Linked DNA regions of Homo sapiens: all the other regions are linked to region 6. Evidence: promoter capture Hi-C in 16 types of primary human blood cells and fetal thymus (Javierre and others, 2016). All regions are on one chromosome and are shown on one strand. The core of a region is centred on a gene start or on the middle of the fragment in contact, and the rest is flanking DNA. Distances in the headings are between cores, read along the strand shown. Region 1 has its middle 3.5 kb from the start of KAT14. Region 2 holds the start of LINC00652 (long intergenic non-protein coding RNA 652). Region 3 overlaps POLR3F (RNA polymerase III subunit F). Region 4 overlaps LOC124904876 (a long non-coding RNA gene). Region 5 has its middle 16 kb from the start of LINC01727. Region 6 holds the start of CRNKL1 (crooked neck pre-mRNA splicing factor 1). Region 7 overlaps DTD1 (D-aminoacyl-tRNA deacylase 1).

The links. Contacts are between HindIII fragments. The CHiCAGO score rates a contact against its expected background, and 5 or more counts as called.
Region 1: a fragment that was not itself captured here is called in contact with the fragment with the promoter of CRNKL1 in region 6 in 3 of 17 cell types (naive CD4 T cells, non-activated CD4 T cells and activated CD4 T cells); the score reaches 9.2 in naive CD4 T cells.
Region 2: a contact is called between a fragment that was not itself captured here and the fragment with the promoter of CRNKL1 in region 6, in 1 of 17 cell types (total CD4 T cells). The highest score is 5.2, in total CD4 T cells.
Region 3: a contact is called between a fragment that was not itself captured here and the fragment with the promoter of CRNKL1 in region 6, in 1 of 17 cell types (naive CD4 T cells). The highest score is 6.3, in naive CD4 T cells.
Region 4: a fragment that was not itself captured here is called in contact with the fragment with the promoter of CRNKL1 in region 6 in 1 of 17 cell types (naive CD4 T cells); the score reaches 5.4 in naive CD4 T cells.
Region 5: a contact is called between a fragment that was not itself captured here and the fragment with the promoter of CRNKL1 in region 6, in 1 of 17 cell types (total CD4 T cells). The highest score is 5.6, in total CD4 T cells.
Region 7: a contact is called between a fragment that was not itself captured here and the fragment with the promoter of CRNKL1 in region 6, in 1 of 17 cell types (total CD4 T cells). The highest score is 6.3, in total CD4 T cells.

The regions. Positions count from the first base shown.
Region 1 is chr20:18,132,718-18,135,930 of GRCh38, forward strand. No RefSeq gene overlaps it. Among named protein-coding and RNA genes, the nearest start is that of KAT14, 3.5 kb to the right of the region's middle. The HindIII fragment of the contact is 751 bases long and covers 1,227-1,977 here.
Region 2 is chr20:18,792,597-18,795,617 of GRCh38, forward strand. It overlaps LINC00652 (long intergenic non-protein coding RNA 652), which reads right to left and starts at 1,988. Exons shown (of 4, transcript NR_026883.1): 1 at 1,572-1,988; 2 at 1,069-1,207. LCDR (lysosome cell death regulator) reads left to right here and starts at 1,453. Exons shown (of 1, transcript NR_026885.1): 1 at 1,453-3,021. RefSeq lists an enhancer at 1,129-1,668. The HindIII fragment of the contact is 9,609 bases long and covers 1-3,021 here.
Region 3 is chr20:18,475,224-18,478,219 of GRCh38, forward strand. The region is part of intron 5 of POLR3F (RNA polymerase III subunit F); the gene reads left to right. Among named protein-coding and RNA genes, the nearest start is that of MIR3192, 6.1 kb to the left of the region's middle. The HindIII fragment of the contact is 2,714 bases long and covers 1-2,649 here.
Region 4 is chr20:18,279,750-18,282,754 of GRCh38, forward strand. LOC124904876 (a long non-coding RNA gene) reads left to right here. Exons shown (of 3, transcript XR_007067544.1): 3 at 58-322. Among named protein-coding and RNA genes, the nearest start is that of ZNF133, 7.3 kb to the right of the region's middle. The HindIII fragment of the contact is 1,368 bases long and covers 987-2,354 here.
Region 5 is chr20:21,552,962-21,555,948 of GRCh38, forward strand. No RefSeq gene overlaps it. Among named protein-coding and RNA genes, the nearest start is that of LINC01727, 16 kb to the right of the region's middle. The HindIII fragment of the contact is 4,582 bases long and covers 1-2,987 here.
Region 6 is chr20:20,050,849-20,053,848 of GRCh38, forward strand. It overlaps CRNKL1 (crooked neck pre-mRNA splicing factor 1), which reads right to left and starts at 1,618. Exons shown (of 14, transcript NM_001278628.2): 1 at 1,444-1,618. The coding sequence starts at 1,494. CFAP61 (cilia and flagella associated protein 61) reads left to right here and starts at 1,684. Exons shown (of 27, transcript NM_015585.4): 1 at 1,684-1,743. RefSeq lists enhancers at 1,473-1,642, 1,653-1,952 and a silencer at 2,043-2,092. The HindIII fragment of the contact is 2,238 bases long and covers 1,575-3,000 here.
Region 7 is chr20:18,589,500-18,592,723 of GRCh38, forward strand. All of the region lies in intron 1 of DTD1 (D-aminoacyl-tRNA deacylase 1), which reads left to right. It also overlaps the pseudogene RN7SL638P. Among named protein-coding and RNA genes, the nearest start is that of DTD1, 3.1 kb to the left of the region's middle. The HindIII fragment of the contact is 3,622 bases long and covers 76-3,224 here.

The DNA.
Region 1 (3,213 bases), core at 352-2,851, 1.9 Mb before region 6:
AGCAATAGGAACTGCAAAAAAGCATGGTACTCTAGTAGGTAAAGTTGTTTCCCACAAAAAAAAAATGACATATAATTATGAGGTAAACAATTCTGAAACTGCTATACATGTACACTGGAATCAAACAATTGCGCAAGTGGATGGTGGAAAATGGGAGCCTGAATTCTCACTGATGGAGTAGGAATTTACCAATAAAAAAAGGAGGTTAGAATAATCCATCTGGTAATGGACTAGAGTTGCAGACATCAGCAATATCTCACATTTTAGTCAATATAGATTCAGGTGATTACATATAGAAATATTTGCAGATATGTAACATACACAGATAAGTATACACACATATATTTATGTGCTTTGTCAGCTGAGAGGGCCCAAAAGAAACAAAGCCCCAGTAGCAATAAGCATGCCAGGACCTATATCTTGGATTCCAATATTATTCTACAATAAAAAGAACCTTGGATTCTTGGAGAAATGGCAGATTCTGAGACTTGGGCAGGAAATATACAAGATTAGCTCAGAATATTGTGCAGTGTCAGAAAATAGACAAGTGCTAAACAAGAAAAACACACATTGATGAGGGTCCGTCAGAGAAGCAGAGGAGCTGAAAGATCTCCCAACGGCCAAAGCGGGAGCCATCTGAGCAACAAAATAAAGTAATATTGGATTATAACCCAAAGTATAAAATAAATACCCACCAGTCCACACTGATAGAAACAAATGATTGAATCAGTTACTAAATGGGAGAGAAGAGACAAACCTGTGCAGAATTTCAGATTACTTATATAGATACTGCATTGAATTCATGGTGATTAATTCCAGTACCAGAAGAAAAACTGGCTGTTTTGGAGTTCCTGAGAAAATATCTATTTTCTTCAACATGTCACCTTCCTAAAATGTTTTCAAGGGTAGTTTTAACTGTTTTTGACTTTTTCCTTATGTGCTGACTTCAGAGCCTCAGCCTGAAGAAGGTGGGATTTCGTGGCCTTGTCTGCCTATAGAGCCCACTACAGGGCCATACACAAGGCAAGCCTTCTTGCTTGCATTTAAAATAGTCATAATGGTGCTTTATGCGGTGCCATGTGGTGTGATGTTTCTGTAATCATTTAGTGCTGAGACTGATAAATTTATCAGTCACTGGTGCCAGTTCAGCTGACACCCTCCACCTTCTTCCCAAACAAACCTCCTCCTTCCCACCTCCTCCTTCTCTCTCAGCCCCAATGATGACAAGCTTCTGATCATTGCCTGAAGCCTCTGCCTTGACCTATTGCATTCATGCCCACCATCAAGCCCAGTTTAAACCCGTGCCTCCTACTGATACCTCCTGCTAGGGTACTAGTGATTTACTATTCTTTAAGACAGAAGTGACCCGAAACCCAGCTCTCCCAGGATAGCTGCCAGGACCTGGCCATGATTCAAGCCCAAATAACATAAGCCAAATTACACACTCAGTGAGGAAGGCATTTTTTTCAAGTCCCCACCCTTGTGTGAGTGAAGGTGGAACAAAGATTGTGTGACCATGTTGTTCAAACACAGGAAAATGACTGCATTCCCTCCCCTTAGTTTTCATTTGTTGATTCTTCTCCAAGCCCTGACTTCCAACTGTACTTCTTTTTTGATGCTGCCTCTTGCTTAGAGGATTCTGAAGGGAAGGACAGGGTAGTATGCTGTTCTAAAGAGTATGGGACTTTATCCTGTAGGCATGGGGAGCCACTGAGCGGTTTTTAAGGTGGTCAGCTTCCTATTTTTGTCTTTGGAGGTAAGTTCACTCTGAAGGCCAGCCAATGGCAGGGCAAGGCACCCACTGTCCTCTCCAGGAAAGCAGTGGCCATTCTGGGCACACCTAAGTCAATCCAAAGCTGAGAGGGGCAGGAACTGATGTGATCTTAGGATGCCGAGACACTAGAATATAGCCAGATACACAAGGTTCAGATGTTCTGGCCTTACAAGCAAATTGTATTAAATCAGCCATGCTTCCTAAGCTTCGTCCCACCTTGGTAAACATAAAAAATAAGGATATCTGTACAACTCACTGGGATCAACTTGCGTGAGCTTGGATAATTCTAAAAGGAGCTTCATGGATAATAATTATTTACATTTCCTTTATATGGTACTCTTATAAAAAAGAAAAAGAAAAACAAAAAAATAAATGACATATAATTATGAGAAGAAAAATAAAAGCAAATCTTGGGGTAGATTTAAATATCAACTTTGGGTAAAATTTCCTGATAACATTCTTCTTGGAGTCTCTTTTAAATATCAAGTTTTGTGTTAAAAATAGTTCCTGATCATTGCTCCTGCACATAGTTCTTGATCAAGATTTTTTTTTTTTTTTTTTTTTTTTGAGATGGAGTCTCACTCTGTCACCCAGGCTGGAGTGCAGTGGTTTGATCTCGGCTCACTGCAACCTCCACCTCCCGGGCTCAAGTGATTCTCTTGCCTCAGTCTCCCAAGTAGCTGGGATTACAGGCACCCACCACCACACCTGGCTAATTTTTGTATTTTTAGTAGAGACGGGGTTTCATCATGTTGGCCAGGCTGGTCTCGAATCCCTGACCTCAAGTGATCCACCCTCCTTGGCCTCCCAAAGTGCTAGGATTAAAGGTGTGAGCCACCACGCCTGGCTGATCAAAATCTTTTTAAATGATCATCTCTTTAATTTTTGATAGTTACCATGGAGAAAAAACTTTTTTTTTTTTTTTTTTGAGTTGAAGTCTCACTCTGTCACCGAGGCTGGAGTGCAGTGGCTCACTGCAACCTCTGCCTCTCGGGTTCAAGCAATTCTCCTGCCTCAGCCTCCCAAGTAGCTGGGATTACAGGCATGCGCTGCCACATTTGGCGAATTTTTGTATTTTCAGTAGAGACGGGGTTTCACCATATTGGCCAGGCTGTTCTCGAACTCCTGACCTCAAGTGATCCACCTGCCTTGGCCTCCCAAAGTGCCTGGAATACAGGCATGAACCACCGTTCCCAGCCAAAAAGCTATTTGATACAAGAAGTGATGATAAAATGTAAAGCCATCGGCTATGAACCAATGGGAAAAAAAAGAAAAAAACACACAATAAAAAATCAAAAGGAAATAAAGACAATAAAAGAAACAAAAAAGAGCCATTTTTTTTCTGTTCGTATAGTTATGTAAGATTTTGTATAGAAGTGTATCATGCATGTATGTGTGACCACACAGCCTTGGTGTGCCACTGGACCAATTTTCACAAA
Region 2 (3,021 bases), core at 423-2,922, 1.3 Mb before region 6:
AGCCTCCCAAGTAGCTGGGACCACAGGTGCCCGCCACCGTGCCCAGCTAATTTTTTGTATTTTTTCTTTTTTTTTAGTAGAGACGGGGTTTCACCGTGTTAGCCAGGATGGTCTCGTTCTCCTGACCTCCTGATCCGCCCACCTTGGCCTTCCAAAGTGCTGGGATTACAGGCATGAGCCACTGTGCCCGGCCACTTTTCTCTCTTTTTTTGTATCCTTTTCCCATGACTTCTTTACTATCTCTTCCCCAATCAGTATTTCGGTATCTATCTATGACTATCTATCTATGACATCCATCTGTCTATGACTCAGACCTGGGCTGAACTATATACTCGCCACATAGATTCTGCAATTAATATTCTGCTGTATTTGTTTTATGTATATGTCTACCTACGCTTGTATACATCCATCAATCCATCTTATTTTTTGATGCTTTTCAAATAAGTGGCAGACATCAGTGCTCTTCACCCCTATGGTGAATTTTGACAAATGCATACACTCATTATCCCTGAAGGTGTCCTTAGGCCCCTTTCCAGTTAAGTCTACCCCCAACTCCCAAGGTGAACTCTATTCTGATTTTTTTCCCACCATAGATTAGTTTTGCCTGTTTTAGAACTTCATATAAATGAAATTGTACATGGTGTAATCTTTTGTGTCCAGCTTCTTTCATTAGCAAAATATTTTCAAGTACCTGTGTTGTTATAAGGGTCCTCATTTTAAAACGAATAATTTGACAAGATCTTTGCAAACTGATCTTTACTTTAAAATTTTGGACTTCTCTGATGTGTATGTAAATACAGTAACCACCTTTAAATTAAATAGCCTAAATACAGTAACCACTTGAACTAAGCCTCTGAAACAGACATCTCTCCCATGTGTCTGTCAGACCTTGTCTTTCTGTTTTCATGCTCCCCACATCCCCCTACCTTGTTTAGCATTGATAAACATTTCAAAACTGCAGAGGGAATTTATCATATTTGTCTCAAGGGCACAGCGCTTTTGATTTACTGTGTTCAGTAAGATGCAGGGGGCTAACCAACCTCTTAGGATTAACTGCATTTGACTTACCTTCAAAAGGTCATCAGCAGTACATCCTTAGTAGGCCTCACAATAGTGTGTCCACAATACGGGTTAGTGGGAGTGATTGAAAGGCTTGGAGAGTTGTCCTTCTGGGTTTGCTCTGGTTGGGCGATCAGAGTCCATAGCACTGGGTGGGAAAACATGAAAGAAAATAAGTGAAAGTGACATGTTCCTCCAGAATAGCTAAAGGTCAGCGCTCACCCCATTCAACCACTGTATTCCCTAGACTTAGCATGAGGCGGTTTCTAAAAATCAAAGCCACACTTAGCGTGGTAATGTGGCTTTGTACCATGTCAACCTAGCTAAGCGGGAACTACGTTTCCCAGAATTCCTTGCCTGTAGGTTTCCGGGGTTAGCACACGCCACGTGACCTGATGCGGGCTTCGTGAGGCGGAAGTGACGCAGTGTTGTCGTCTCGTAGGCTTGAAAGGTAGGTGCCCGACATTAGGGACTGTCGCAGCCCGGGGAATTGTCCCCATCTGCTGGCTTACCTTGTGGGCGTGGATCCCCTCTAACTTTCCTAATTCCCGGGCGGCCCGCGGGCCTGCGGCAGATTCAGCTCTCAGGACTCCACTTTCAGTTTCTTCCACTTCTGGGGCAGGCTGCTTGTCCTGCCACTCTCAGGCCCCCCACCAGACACGGCAGCAACAGCTGTTCCTAAGTGTTCAACTCGCTCCTTCCCGCAAATGTAGAAGCTCAAATCCCTATAGCAAATTCCATATTCTATGTCATTCTTAATGCTTCCGTCTCTCTGGTTGAATCTAGATTGGATACAATCAGTGATGCACATTTACCAGACAGAGGATGTGCAGCGTTTACTGTTGATTTCTCTCTTTTCCTCCCTATCACCTCAGTTTAGTTCCAGGATCCACACTCCTCCACCATAGTCAGGAGATTCAGGGAAAGTTGGCAGGGTTCAGCTTTCAAGTTGACCCTTGATGAACCATGGTCAATCCTGTTAAGAGGCGTGAAAGCCAATCCCAGCCAATGAGACTGGGGAGAAATCACTGAAGAACTTGTGGAAAACAGACCCTCTGGATAAAAGACACGTGTGGGGAAAAAGGGGCTTTTTAATGTTATTCTGGATGTTTCCCAAAAGTACTGCTGCTGCCTTGCCTCCCTGACAGACACTGGCCTTAGGATGACATGCGGCAGGAAGGAAGGACGGATCTGGGGTTTTTCAAGACTCACTGAGATGCACAAGGAACCAACCCTCAAGTAGCCAACTCGTTCCTGTTTGCATGTGTCGACTGAAAAGAATCAAAATAAACAAAATATAACTATTTCTAAGAGGTTACAACTTGCAGGCAGGAAGCAGGCCTCTACCTGAGGCCATAAAGCATACTTTGAAGGAGAAAAGGTAGGTATTTATGCTAGGTGGAGAGGTAGGATATACGTATTCTGTAGCATACAGGAGAAGCCTATGAAAATTCATGGAGGAAACTCGTTAGAGACACGCACTGGGCTTACATATGAAGAATATCCAAAAGCGGATGACCTGTGTTCACTCTGGGGTGAAGATTTAACATTTAAATGTATTATAATTAGGCTGTAAATGCAAAAAGGTGAAACATAGGGCACAAGTTCACGATCTGTGCAATCTCCAGAGACCAGTCTGATCTAGCCTGCAGCTGGCAGTCATCTGTCAAGAAGGGGCTCTTTGTAGCCCAGAGTAGCTGTCAGGTTGGAACCATAAAACCAAAAGGAGGGCATCGGCGGTTAGGTGAAGAAAAGAAGTCTTTTGGCCTTTTTTCCTCTTCAAGTCAGCTTTTGATAAGATCTAGTAATAATAAGGGGATGGGTGTGGCTGCAGGTGGGACATGTCGGTTCTCTGTCCTGTCACAGCTAAGAACTAAGAACTTTAGAGTCTTTCAGCCATAGAGGGTCCTGTCATCCATTGAAGGGATCAGTCCATTGGGATTTTGCCAGTTTTAGCATTGA
Region 3 (2,996 bases), core at 43-2,542, 1.6 Mb before region 6:
GTTGCTTCAAGTTTTTATTCTTGAAGTTATGTCATGATTTAGAACAGCTGGTCAAAAAAGACTTAAAAATTTAGCTCATGTTGGATTGGTTTGGAGATGCTGCTTAGACTTGTCCCTACACAGTTAGCTCTTGGTGTCTCACTCACCCACTCAAAAATCTAAAACTACTTTACTGTCTTCAGTGAAGAATCTTTGGAACTGTGAACATTTTTCCTAGATTTTGTGGTGTGTAAGATAATTTACTTTATCCCGACATATTAGCTTTCTCATTCAACAAAGAGTGTTTGCTGTGTGCCAGACACTGTTTTGAGTGCTTGGGATACATTAATGAACAAGTCGTAGAAAGATCCCTGCCTTGGTGGAGCTTCTCTTCTAGTACACGTGTGTTTTTCCTGCTCCTCATCCTGCCCCACCCCTGCTCCAGAGCTGGCTCCCTCGGGGACATCTGCCCCTGACCTCACTGATTTAGACATCAGAGGAACTGAGATTCCCCTAGAATAAAGTTTGCTTCAATACACATTTCATAAGAATTACAGCTATAATTCAAATTTTATAATTTCAGAGCTGTTAGGTCTGTGGCAGTGAGTAGACCTTTCCTCAAATATCCGCTTACATATGTTGCTTCAAGTTTTTATTTTTGAATAAAACAAGAATTATAAGAATTATAACATCACTTATAAGAATTTGATGCTTATTAGTGATTTTATTTATCAGAATAGCATTTCCCTTCCACATTGTTTAATGGATAATTTCAAATATATACAAAGGTAGAAAAAATCATATAATAAAACCCTATCATGTAGCCTCATTTTGTCAGTCCTCCTTCTACATCTTTATGTTTAATAACAGCTCTGCTGAAATATAATTCATCATTCATACTACAGAATTCATTCAACCTTTTAAAGTGTAAAATCTTTGGATTTACAGTCACTGGTTTTTACTATAAGCTAAGAGTTGTGCAACCATCACCGCTGTTCTAATTTTAGAACATTTTCATCACCCCCAAATGTGGCCACTAGTATTTGTTTCCCAGCCTCTCTTTCCATAGGCCCTAAAAACGAATAATTTATTTTCTGCCTTTATTATAGATTTGCCTATTCTGGACAGTTCCTATAAATGGAATAATAGAATATGTAGTCTTTTATGTATGACTACTTTGACTTAGCATGATGTTTTCAAGATTTATCCATATTGTGCTTTATTCCTTCTTATTGCCAATTAAAATTCCATTGTATAGATGTATATCACCTTTTGTTCATTCATCCGTTGGTGAACTTCTGTGTCCTTTTAAGGGTTAAAATAATCTTAGATCTCAGTGTAAAGTGCAAAACTATAAAACTTTTTGAAGAAAACATAGAAAATCTACATGACCTTGGCTTTGTTAATGAATTCTTGGACTATAACTCCAATAGTAGTCTATGAAAGAAAATGTTAATAAGTTGGAGTTTATCAAAATTTTTTGAAAACCTCTGCTTTGCAAGACACATTAAGAGAATGAAAAGACAAGTTACATACTAAAAGATATTTGCAAATCACATATTTGATAAAGGACTTGTCTCCAAAATATACAAAGAACTCCTAAAATTCAGCAATAAGAAAACAACACTTTGGGAGGCCAAGGCGGGTGGATCACCTGAGGTCAGGAGTTCAAGTCTAGCCTCACCAACATGGTGAAACCCTGTCTCTACTAAAAATACAAAATTATCCAGGCGTGGTGGCACATGTCTGTAATCCCAGCTACTTGGGAGGCTGAGGCAGGAGAATTGCTTGAACCCAGGAGGCAGAGGTTGCAGTGAGCAAGATTGCACCATTGTACTCCAGCCTGGGCAACAAAAGCGAAACTCCATCTCAAAAAAAGAAAAAAAAAAAAAAACACACAATGAAAACAAATAATCCAACTAAAAATGAGCAAAAGATCTGAACCTCACCAAAGAAGACATACAGATGGCAGATAAGCATATGAAAAGATGCTCTACATTATTTTTCATTAGAGAACTGCAAATTAAAATAAAATTTAGTATAGTGAGATACCACTACACACCTATTAGAATAGCTAAAATCTAAAAATTGGTAATACCATATGCTGACAAGATACAGACCAAGATGAACACTCATACATTGCTAAGAATGCAAAATTTTCAGTCCTTTTGTTAAAAAACTGGGCAGTTTTTACAAAACTAAACAGAGTCTTACCACATTGTCCAAAGGTCAAGCTCTTAAGTATTTACCCAACTGATTTGAAAACTCATGTCCACATAACTACATGAATATTTATAGCAGCTTTATTCGTAATCAGCAGCTTTATTCATAATCAAAAACTGGAAGCAACCAAGGTATCCTTCAATAGGTGAATGGATAGACAAACCAGAATAGTATTCAGTTATAAAAAGAAATAAGCTATCATGAAAAGATATGAGTAAATCTTAAATGCATATTGCTAAGTAAAAGAAGCCAGTCCGAAAAGGCTACATACTGTATGATTACAACTATATGACATACTGGAAAAGGCAAAACTAGACAGACTAAAAAGATCGGGGTGAGGGCAGGGATGGTAGGGAAAGTTGAATAGGTGAAGCATGAGAAATATTTCTAGGGTGGTGAAATTATTTTGTATGACAGAAGCATTAACCAAATTTGGAAGCCCACCCAAGCTTTGCTGTCCAAAGTTTTTATTAGGGTTTCATTATACAGGCATGATTGATTGAATCCTTGGTCATGTGAGTGAATTCAATCTCCAGCTCCTCTCTTCTCCCAAGAGATTGGACTGATGTCATGTGGCCCAAAGCCCCAACCCTCTAATCATGCGGTTGGTCTTTCCAGCATGGACAACTCCTATCCTGAAACTATTTAGAGTCCTATCAGGAGTCACCTTGTTAGCATAAACCCAGGTGTGATCTAAGGGATTCACCATGAATAACAAGGCCTATTGGGAAATTCCAAAGATGTAGAAGTTATTTCCTAGGAAAAAGGGACAAAGTCTAGCCAAATTTTTTTCT
Region 4 (3,005 bases), core at 421-2,920, 1.8 Mb before region 6:
TAAATGATGGCTATTTCATTTCATCAAGACTGAGGTATCATGTCAACCCATTTCTAGGACAAAACTTCAGCTGCTGTCTTGGTCTGCTTTATCCACACCTGACCTGTCACTTACAATGTACATTCTGAGGACCAACATCTCCAAACATTGTCCTGGGGCAGGAGCATCCTCCTTACTAGAAAGCTCAGGGCCTCTGAATCAGAATCTGCATCACAACAAGATCCCCAGAATACTGAAGTTTGAGAAGCTCTGGTCTACATTAGATGGTTTTCTAATGGCTCCCTGTTGCCACTGATAATAAAGCTCTCTTGTCTTTACCAGAGCTACAAGTCATCCCTGACTCTCTTCGTCTTCCTTATTGCCCTTAATTTCTTCATTCTTTAGGATCTGCCCTCAGTGCTACTGGTTTTATTGTCATTAAAAAATATTAACGCAATGCTCAGACTTCCTCAATTATGAATATGGTAAAAAAAATTAACTTATGGACAATCTATTCTAAAAATACTAAATATATGGACACGTGGATGCAGCACTGTAGTCCTCCTTATTCACAGTTCCACTTTCTGAGGTTTCAGTTACCCAGGGGCAACCACGGTCTGAAAATAGGCGAGTACAGTACGATAAGATATTTCGGGAGACCACATCCACGCAACTTTTGTTACAGTATATTGTTATAGTTGTTCTACTTTATTATTAGTTATGAATCTCTTACTGTGCCTAATTTATAAATTAAACCATATCTTCAGTTTTTTTGTATAGCAAAAAACATATGTACAGTATGTGGGATTTGGTACTATCCAAGGTTTCAGGCAACCAGTCTTGAATGTAACCCCCCATGGATGGCAGGGGAGGGGAACTACCATATTTAAATTTTTAAAAATTGATAAGGTTTCTTTTCTCAGCTGGTAGGTTTTGTGTTGTTATGATTTTATAAGCTCAGCCACATGCAAAATCGAGTCAAGACACCTTGGCCAGGCAGGTGAGGAAGCTTATGTAGCCCCAACCTTGCCTTCTGCCACTCTGCACCCCATATTCCCTTCTCCAAGCTCTCACAGCTCTCTGCACCTCTGAATAGCTCTGGTGACACTAGGATCAGTGATTTGCCTGTCCTTCTCTCACTGCTACCTGAATACTGTATTTTCTTTCATAAAATAGCATCCTACCTGAATGCCTAGTGCTGACTGGAAAATATGGAGGGAGTGTTGGCATTGGAAATTACAGCTTTGTAACTATTAGGGTAAAAACTAGTCTAGGCAAGAATCATTAATGGATGCACAGTCTTAAATTGTCTCCTCAGAGATGGTCTTAGAAACGAAAAAAATAGTAACTGTACAAGGCAGAAATCAGGCACTACCAAATGTGATATCCCTCACACAACCCCCAAATAAAACATTCAGCTACCAAAAAGGAGGACCCTGTTCTTAAAAGACAGAAAAACAAACCCTAAGAAAAATATTCCAGGTTAAAGGATACTAGAATCATGACAACTAAACCTAATCCTAGGCTGGATCCCATACTAGAACGCAAAAAAAAAAAAAAGTTATAAAACACATTATCAAGTCAATTGTCAAATTAGAATACCGATGATAGGTTATTAAAAGTACTGCATCAGTGTTACATGTACTGCACCTGCAACTTTGTTACGTTTGAAATTATTTTCAAATAAAAGGTTTAAAATTTACAAAAAAGTATTTCTTTCTAAATTAAAAAAATAACCATTTCAATATATAAAAATAAAAATATATTTAAATATAAAAATAAACTACCCAAAGGCATGTTTCTTTAAACAGGTAAATCACGCTATCAGTAAAAAAAAAAAAGTGCAATAGAGCAGCCGGGTGCGGTGGCTCACACCTGTAATCCCAGCACTTTGGGAGGCTGAGCTGGGTCAATCACCTGAGGTCAGGAGTTTGAGACCAGCCTGGCCAACATGGTGAAACTCTGTCTCTACTAAAAACACACAAAAAAATTAGCCAGGCATGGTGGTAGGTGCCTGTAATCCCAGCTACTCGGGAGGCTGAGGCAGGAGAATTGCTTGAACCTGGGTGGCAGAGGTTGCAGTGAGCCGAGATTGTGCCATTGCACTCCAGCCTGGTCAATAAGAGCAAAACTCTGTCTCAAACAAAACAAAACAAAACAAAAAAACAAAAAAAAAAACTGCAATAGAGCTTGTGAGAAGCTGCCAGGAACAAGGTGAAATGGAACATACATTGGAGGAGAATAAGGAAGCAGCAATAATGAATCCTGGCCAACAGGTACTGAGCCCCAAATCGCTTCACAAGTATTATCACAGTTTCACTGCTTTCCAATGTATTCATTTATGCCTTTGTGTTTCTTTTTGCTATATTTTTTCAAGCTTGGGTTGAAGACTTTGTTTCCTTACCTCTTAAATTTTTTATTTCAATGATAAAGTCATTAAATACAATGGATTTGCTATGATCAGAATTTTGGTTTTCATACATAGTATTCTTGTTTTGTTTCTAATGTAAAACAAAAACTACCAAGGCTTAAGAAAAGAAGTGAAAAGGTTGAGTTACTACACACACCACTGAAAAAGTTTCACAAGTTGTTCACTGAGGGGGAAATTTCAGTGTTTTTAAATGTTAGGAGGTAGAGTTTCATTGTGGCTGTGTTCATTATGGATTAAAAACTAGCACTCTGGATAGGTCAGAATGAATCCATAGTACTGTTACATAATTGGTTTAAAAGGTTCTATTTTTCAGAGGTCAGGAAAAATTATTGAGTTACAGCCAAGTAGTTTTGCCCTACTAGGGTCACTCAAAGTTTAGAGTTCTTAACAGATATAGCTGAGGGGAGATGGCATTGCTTTATTATTTTCTAAGCAGGTGCTGCTGTAAATGGAATCTTTTCCTTTTACTGTCTCTTCTTTTGCTCTTTTCTTTGCCTAAAATGATTGGATGACCACACAAATATTAGCCAAGTTATCAGGTTTCCAGTTCTACATCTCCATGTTGTTTTTTGTATCATTCTCACATGATTTGTTT
Region 5 (2,987 bases), core at 457-2,956, 1.5 Mb after region 6:
TATTTCACTAATGTGTTCAAGGTTCATGCGTGTTGTAGCATGTGTCAGAATTTCCTTCCTTTTTAAGGCTGAATCATATTCTGTTTACTCTTGCAGCCCCCTTTGGGGCCTTATGAGGCTTCTATGTTCATGGAGGTGCCAGCATTATGCTGGGGACCCAGCCTAAGATGAACCCACCTGGGAAAACCTCATGGAACTGAGCTGCAGAGCCTTCCTCACGGTCCTCCCCCTCCATCCCTCTCAGGTCCCCAAAGGAGACCAGGAGGCCTCTCCTGATTCATCTGAGGAGGGTTTGGTGGGCTGGGAAGTGTCCTTCCACTTACTTGGAGCTTTTCGGCAGCCAAATCTCTATCTTTCTCCGTATAATAGGTTCTCTCCCTGTTTTTGCAGGGAGTTGGTGGTGGGATTTGTGACAGTATGGAAATAGTAAAGACAGGCCCAAAGGGTAACCATACAGGAAAATATCTATTACCAGGTGAAAATTCCCCTTTTAAAAAAATGTGGGCTGGGCACAGTGGCTCACACCTGTAATCCCAGCACTTTGAGAGACTGAGGTGGAAGGATTGCTTGAGCTCAGGAGTTCAAGACTAGCCTGGGCAACATAGTGAGACCTCATCTCTATAAAAAAAAATACAAGAAATTGGCTGGGCATGGCGGCATGCACCTGTCCCACCTACTCAGGAGGCTGAGGTGGGAGGATTGCTTGAGCCCAGGAGCTGTGATTGTACCACTGCATTCTAGCCTGGGTAATCCTGTCTCCAAAAAAAAAAAATGTGTAGAGTTTGAACAGTTCACTTTTTTTTTTTTTTTTTTGAAATGGAGTCTCACTCTGTCACTCGGGCTGGAGTGCAGTGGTGCAATCTTGGCTCACTGCAACCTCTGTCTCCTGGGGTCAAGCAATTCTCCAGCCTCAGCCTCCCGAGTAGCTGAGATTACCGGCACCCACCACCACACCCAGCTAATTTTTGTATTTTTAGTAGAGACAGGGTTTCACCACGTTGGTCAGGCTGATCTAGAACTCCTGACCTCAGGAGATCCACCTGAGGGATTATAGGCTTGAGCCACCAAGCCCGTCCGCACACATTTTTTTAAAGAAAGAAATTTATGCACACCTTTTTGGAAAAGCAGGCAACTGAGATGGAATGGTCATTCTAGTCCTGTAGAGGATTTAAAAATATGAGAGCACTTTTGCCTTCTCCTACTCTCATGAAGCTGAAATCGTTTATTTATATAACTCCCACCTTTGGCGTGAACTTCAAATTAGACATAGTGTTATCAATTAATGTAAGAGAAACCCATCCAGAGAGGGGAGTGAGGCAGCTATAAAACCAGGTGGAATTGAATGCTTATAAAAGAGGTTCGACAATGTGATCTTCATGTCCTGGACTCCTGGGAGATTTTCCTTGAACTGGTTCACGTAGTCAAAAGCCTTACATTCTTTTCTGAAGGACAGTTGAGATCATTTTAATCATAATGGAGACTATATGCCGTGAAAGTCTTTAAAAGAATGAGAGGGAGAGTTTGCACGGTGAAGGATATAGAGCAGGCTGGCTTTGAGCTTACATTAGCATGCACCACCTCTTGTCTGGAAGCACCGCGTACCCTCACTAAGACTCATGATAACTACGAAAAGTGAAGCGAGGCTGGAAGAGAGGCCACGGATGTTAAGCATGTTAACATTTCCATTACATCTAAAAGCAGAAAATGGAACAAATAAAGCAGGTTGGGTTTTCTTCCCCCAGTATAATATATGCCAGAATGTCACAAGAACTCATTGTCTGCAGTGAATACAAAAATATGGGCAATTCAGGCTGAACAATGGAAACGTTGGTGATTCCATAAAAGCATCCCATTCGCATTAAGTTCATCTGGCTTTGTTTTATCCCTATTTTTTCCCCCAATAAAGCTGTGTCTTGAATAATATGATCTTTAAAGTTTAAGCTGCATATAGAAGTGCTTCTTCTTTTCCTCTCCACTTTCTCTGGTTCTGAAATGCAAGAAATGCAGAATAAAAGACAATTGAACCATCGTATTTGTTTTTTCTGCCCCTTCTCTCCAGTTAAATGCTGTTGTGATTTTGATGTAAACATCCTAGTAATTTTCACAGGAAGTGGGTGCAGGGATCCTAGCAGTGTGTCTGTTCAATGGTACTGTTAGGCGTCTTTTTGTTCAAAGGAGGACTTGTTCCAACGCCCTGGCACTGATCCAGTGCAGGCAGCCCGGGGACTTGGTGGGCCACCAGGGCAGGTGGTCCAGGAGCTGGACTGTGCACTTAGAGGGGAGGCTGGGTGGTCTTTTCTTTCTACTCGGGATCTCCTGCTCTTAGAAGACCGGCCTTTTGGGATTGAGTCTTTGAGGACTCAGAAGTGATTTTGACCTTGAGCTGACATTTTCAGAGTGAACGAGCTTGCTGAAAGGATGGCAATGTGCAATGTTTGGCTCTCCCCATGATTACAGAGTTGAGTTTAAGAGACAGAGGGAGTAAAAGAAGATGACATTTGAGTTTTTGTGAGTCTTCATCTTATTCCTTTCTGCCTCTCGTTGGAACTGACTGCCAATTCAGAACAAAACAAATTGTGAAAACTCCCCTCCTGTGTCACTCACCCCTGGCCCTCGGGGCCCAGAGTTGGAACAAATTAGGATGGCTTTTGACATTAGGCACAGGACATAAAGCCACAAAAAGTTTGTCTATCCACAAAGAAGCAGAACCTTTGGGTAGACCCATACACCCATACATATATCTACACAAAACACTGTGTTTTCAACCCAACAAGAAAATCATATTTCTCAGTTCTGTTTGACTTCCTCAGCCTTGTTTTCTTATCCCTGTTTCCTTCCTTCCTCCCTCCCTCCCTCCCTCCCTCCCTTCCTTCCTTCCTTCCTTCCTTCCTTCCTTCCTTCCTGCCTTCCTTCTCTTTGCTGATCCTTCTGAGTCTTGAGCCAGGATACAGGGCAACACTCAAGACTGTCCTCATGCCCTTTCCTTT
Region 6 (3,000 bases), core at 368-2,867:
AAAAGGTGGCAAAAATAATAGCAAGTTTTCCCTTTTAGATGAGTATAATAATAAACTTTGAGGCCGTCTAGGTAAAATTCTGACCAGAGGTTTTGTTTTATCAAAATGTGTAGCACATCTTATTAACAGCATTACAACCTGCATTTACAGAATTCTTCAACTTATTTAATGCCCCGGTGTATAACTGGGTTTGGTTTTACATGGCACTTCAAGTCAAAGGCAATTTCAGTAAGTTCTCATCATTAGACTGTAAGCTTCTTGAGGTCTTAGAAGCTTACAGTCTAACGTAGCTTAGAGCTGTGCTGTCCAACACAGTAGCTATGAGTCACATGTGGTGAGTACAAATTGAGGTGGACTGTAAGTGTAAAATACACATTGGTTTTGAAGATGAAGTATAAAAAAGAATAAACTACCTCATTACATTTTTTATACCGATTACATGTTGAAATGATAATATTTTGGATACATTAGCTCAAATAAAATATATATTATCAAAATTAATTTCACTTTTTTGCTTTGTTTTTACTTTTTAATGTAGATATGAGAAAATTTAAAATTTCATATGTGGTGTGCATTATATTTCCATTGGACCAGTGATGCCCAATAAAAGTTTATGTAGCTGAATTATAAAAAATGTTACTTAATGCCACATGTGGAGTAATGATGATAATGGTGATAGCTCATATTTAATAAGCACTAAGTGCCAGACACAGTGTTACTTGCTCTATATGCATTACTCCTGCGAGTCAGACAAATAGTTATGTAAAGGTCCAGTTCAAGAGAGTCATCCGGGCTCAAGAAAGACTGGAGGGAGGGTATCTGTAAAGGCTTCAAAGTCTGCCACATATTAAGCACTTGGTAAGTATTAGCTATCAAAGGAAATACCAGATAGTAAGTCTACTGTTTAATTAACTTATGATACTATACTACTCCTACCGTCTACTCTCGCCCTCCGCTGTCAGCTGGGCTAACTCCTATTCAGCCTTCAAGTCTCAGCTTAAAGGTCATTTCCTCAGCAAAATTTACTTTCAGGACCCCTTCATACGACCCCCTTATTCACGCCCATGGCATATTCTACTTTGCCTCTCGGTAACATCTAGCAAGGTCGTCTTTATACAGAAACTCGTGTTTTGAGTACTGCTTGTGGCCAGCGTACGAGCGTAGCTTCCCAGCGCCCAGTGCAGTGCCTGGCTCAGTAAATCTTCACCGAACCACCCCACTCCACTCCCCAGCAAAACCACCCCAGAACGAAGGCCACGCCAACGCGGGTCGTGCTCCGCGATGACAAGAGCCCGCGCCCCACCACCAGCTGCCCTTCCTCTCCATCTCTCAGGGTGAGCCTTCTCCCCGGCGGGAACACTCTCTCCCAACCCGGGCACCCTCAGGGCTGAGGGATGCCCCTTTCCTAGGCCACCTCCTACAAGGCCCCTCGCGATCGCCTACCTTGGCCACTTTGGGAATCCGCTGCTTCCCGGCCGCGGTGGAGGCCGCCATGTCTGCAGCAGTCGACCTCTGGACACCTGTCCCCGGCACGGACGCTAGAAATCGGCTCTGAGAGCTCACCGAAACCACAAAGCTTTCAGAAAACAAACAGGATCTCGGAACCGGAAGCGGAACTTGCAGGACTGACCTTTGACCTCTCGCTTGAGCCGTGACGGAGGCGGCACCGTTTCCATGGTGACCAGGCTGCGCGTCCTCCTTGCGGCAGCGCGTGGAGTGCGGCGTCCTGGAGCTGCGGATGAGGTGGGTAACGCCGTGCTGACTAGCAGCGACGCAAGGACTGCGGTGCAGGGCGTCCAGGGCGCATCCCCAGGTCAGCCTCCGGAACTGGGATGACCAGGCGAGGACGAGTGGCTCTGTCGAGCCGTGGCGCCCTGCAAGGGAGTAAGAACGGAGCTCCAATCTGGATGCTCGAGGGCGGGGGAAGAAGGGAGAGCGAGGAAACTACCATTCCCAGCATGCGACGGGGCGAGCTGCCGCCCTTTTAGGCTGCAATGCCTCGAGCATTGCATTCTAGTAGTCTCTGGGTCCACGCCCCCTCGTTTCTGGTTTCGGGACAGTTGTGCCCAAATAATTCTAAGGTGCCCAAATAATTAACTCTAAGGCTTGGAATTAAAAATAACAGAAGGTACTTTGAAGCCAGATATTAGGAAAAAATATAAATAGAGTAACTGGAAAACAACTCAGTCTTGTGATAAGAAACATGTTTAAATTCTGTGTGTGCCTTAATTACTCTAGTTAAATTTTCTTAGCCTCAATGTCCTCAACTATAAAACAAGGCTAATAACATCTGTTTCACTAGGATTAAAGACAAATGCTCAGTAGATGTTAGCTGTTATAATACTTAACCTGCCCTCAAAAACTGAAAAGCAAAGGTTAAGAGAATTTTTTTTAATAGACATTTTTAGAGAAGTTTTAGGTTCACAACAAAATTAAGTGGAAGACACAGAGATTTCCTCCCTCCACAGCTTCCTGCTATCAATTATTGTACCTCTTCCCTCCTCTAACAGCCTCCAACTCTTAAAAATATCCTCCACCAGAGCAGTACATTTGTTACAATCTTGAACCTACATTGACACATCATTATCACCCAAAGTTCATAGTTTATATTAGGGTTCACTCTTGGTGTACATTCTATGAGGTTGGACAAATGTATAATGACATGACTTGGCAGCTCATTTGTTAGGATAATTTCCACAGTTGCAAAGCTCTTTTGGTGTTTGGGGAAAATATATATTTATGTATGTAGTAATATCACGTCTACCAATGCAGATATTACTTTCAACAAAAGATTTATGCAGATTTCTAGAACTGCAGTCAGTTATAACCAACATCAATGTATTTGCCATAACTCTTTATTAACCATATTATTTAGATATTTTATCTCACTTTTCAAAATTTAAATAGAGAAGATTTTATATCACTTTCATAAAGCCACCTAACAAAATAAATAAATATTAAAAAGATGTTTCTTTGAAGTGATTTTCCTTAAATGTGTTA
Region 7 (3,224 bases), core at 637-3,136, 1.5 Mb before region 6:
TTCTGGTAGCTTTGGTTTTGGAAATGGTCCTGGAATAATAGGGAATAGAGTAGCACTGGGATTTAGGAATTTTAAAGCTTTTATAACATTTCTGTAGATATTTAAATTCATGAAAACTGGGAAAATTCATAGATGAAAGATGTTTTGCATTATTGAGAAGAACCTTGCAGTCTGCTGCTGTGTGTGGTCGTCACTGACAGATTTAAATTTTGATCTCTCTCCTGAACTCTCCATCCTGCTAATCTGGAATATTGAAAATGTGTATTCTGTGAGATGTGCTGAATAAGAGTTTGGGTTATTTTGGTTCACTATTTAAGTTATATGCTTTCAGTTAAAACAACCAAACCTGCATATTAAAAAAGATAAGGGTGTTAATTATGGGAAAGTGTAAATAATTCGGGAATTCTGGGTTGGGGAACTGTGGAATTCTGTTAGAAGGGCCCTCCACTTATGCAGGCCTTCTAGTTGCATTGTAATGGAAAGGGATTTTCTGATTCCTTTAAAATGTGGCTGGTTTCACTGAAATGTGGCTGTGTTTGAATGGCATTTTATTTTAGGGGTTCTAAAATGTTAACTTCCTGTTTTATGGTCAGGACAGCATAGATTATCAGGAGTCACACATTTTATTTTATTTTAAAATAGTTGGTTGACTTCACATTTATTTTAAATTTATGCATTTATGGTTTGTTTGTTTTAGAGATGGGGTCTTGCTCTGTCACCCAGGCTGGAGTGCAGTGGCACTATTATAGCTTACTACAACCTCAAACGCTTGGGCTCAAGTGATCCTTTAGTTTCAGCATCCTGAGTAGTTAGACTACAGGCGTGTGCCGCCACCGCTATGTCCAGCTTAGGAGTCACACATTTTACTATGTGGTATATTCAATTTATGTGATTGGTCAAACACATTTTTTTTTATAGTAACCCTGTAATATCATTTGATGCCCAGTCCATCAGATTTCTCCAATTGGCTAATTGGTTTTGTTTTTGTTTTGAGAGAGTCTTGCTCTGTTGCCGAGGCTGGAGTACAGTGGTGCCATCTCTGATCACTGCAGCCTCTGCCTCCTGGGTTCAAGCGATTCTCATGCCTCTGTGTCCTGAGTAGCTGGTCTTACAGGTGCGCGCCACTGTGCCTGGCTAATTTTTTTGTATTTTTAGTGGAGACAGGGTTTTGCCATGTTGACTAGGCTGGTCTCAAATTCCTGGCCTCAAGTGATTTGCCTGCCTCGGCTTCCCAAAGTGCTGGGATTACAGGCATGAGCCACTGCACCCAGCTTGATCAAACACATTTTGATGCCTTAGGTTGGGTACTGTGATAATCTAATTTTTAAAAGTTTATTATGGCACATTTCAAACATATTAACAGACGGAATAGGGCAATAACCCCCATGTCCCATCATTCATTGTCAGCAGCTAAAATTTGATGTCTGTGAACAGTGTTGGAAGAGGATCTAAAATGTTTGGGTTTAACTAGGTTAACTTCAAAGGTTATGAATTCTTGAAGTAGAGATCTCAGGTCTGATGCCACTAGTAGGTAGAAAAATTGACCAAACATCTCAGTCTTTTCCAGCCCTTTGATCTTTTGTTCAAAGTGGTGATTCTCAGATTTTTTCCCTTGGTGATCCATTTACTTATAATAAAAAATCCTTTTGAATCTCCTAGTCCTTCTACTTGTCCCTGGAGGGGGGACAAAACTGCTCCAAAATAAGACAGCAGTCTCTGTGTCATATATAGACTTTGGGCCATAATTTGTTTCATGTTAAGATAATTATAAAACTGTCAAAATTCTTTGACAGTGATTCTAGAATCTAAGCAGATAATCCTAACTGTAGAAAAGGCTTTAGTGTACGAAGATTTTCACTACACTGTTATTTACTGAGGTGAAAATTTTGAAAGAAGCCATATGTCCAGCAAGATGGAATGGTTAATCAGTCTACTTGATGAGCTGAATCTATTAAAAGGTGTTTAGGAAAAGGTTATGACATGAAAAAATTCTTATGCAATATTATTATAAAAATTTATATGCAATGTTATTATAGTAGTTGAAAACAAATATGAATTAAAATGTATGAATAGATACAATATTAAAAGGAAATCATTAAAATATTAAAGTACTTACCTTTGTTCTTTTTTTCATGTTTCTCATATTTTCTAAAATATATAATCCTTACTTTGATGATAGATATAACTTCATGACCTTTATTTTTTAAAACATACTTTGGGAAAAATTTAGAAAGTATATCAATATTGTAAGAAAGTAATGTTGATTTATTCAAAGAACAAATAAAGCCAAAGGCTTTTTCTGAAGCAATGCAAATGAGCAAACCAACCCCCAATTGTTTACTGCCTATGTCAGGATAGATTATTTCTATTTCAGCTTTTGAGGCAGTGGCTCAAAGGACAATAAGTCACACACACATAGTTCATTATAAGAAAAGCAGCACAGAAGAAAAGATTTAAAAAATTTTAGCCTAAAAATAAAGAAATTAAGCATTACTGATATTTCAGGAATGGATTGATGTGCTCTGCTGGGATCTGAATAGCAGGTGGTCTCTTGCCATTGCAACTGAAGAAAGAGGGAAGTTTCTCACCCTTTCTTTAGCAGTGTATTGTAACATGACATAGTCTATGTTACTGTGTTAGTTATATTTATAGCTATTACCCTGCAGAAGCAAGCAAACAGCAAGAAAATGGCTGAGGTGACCCTTCTATTCCGATTAGCACATTAGGTCAGTACAAGATGAAGTAGTAAAATAACATAATCTAATAAGATTGGCAAATAATTGGCAAAAAATAGAAAATTTTCAAAAGCACCACTTGAAATACAGATTTAGCTGGGTATGATGGCGTGCATCCATAGTCCCAGCTACTCTGGAAGCTGAGGCAGGGAGGATTGCTTGAGCCCAGGGGTTCTGGGCTATAGTACACTATGCTGACCTGCTGTCATACCAAAGTTCTGCATCAATATGGTGAGTTCCCAGGACCAGAGGACCATCAGGAGGGATGGACCAACCTAGGTTGGACATAGAGCAGGTCAGAACTCCTGTGCTGATTAGTAGTGGAATTGCACCTGTGAATAGTCACTGCACTCCAGCTTGGACAACATAGAGAGATCCTGCCTCTTAAAAAGAAAAACAAATGAAAAAAAAAACAGGGATTCTCCATCATAAAGATGCATCTTTTTTTTTTTTTTTTGAGATGGAGAGTCACTCTTGTCACCCAGGCTG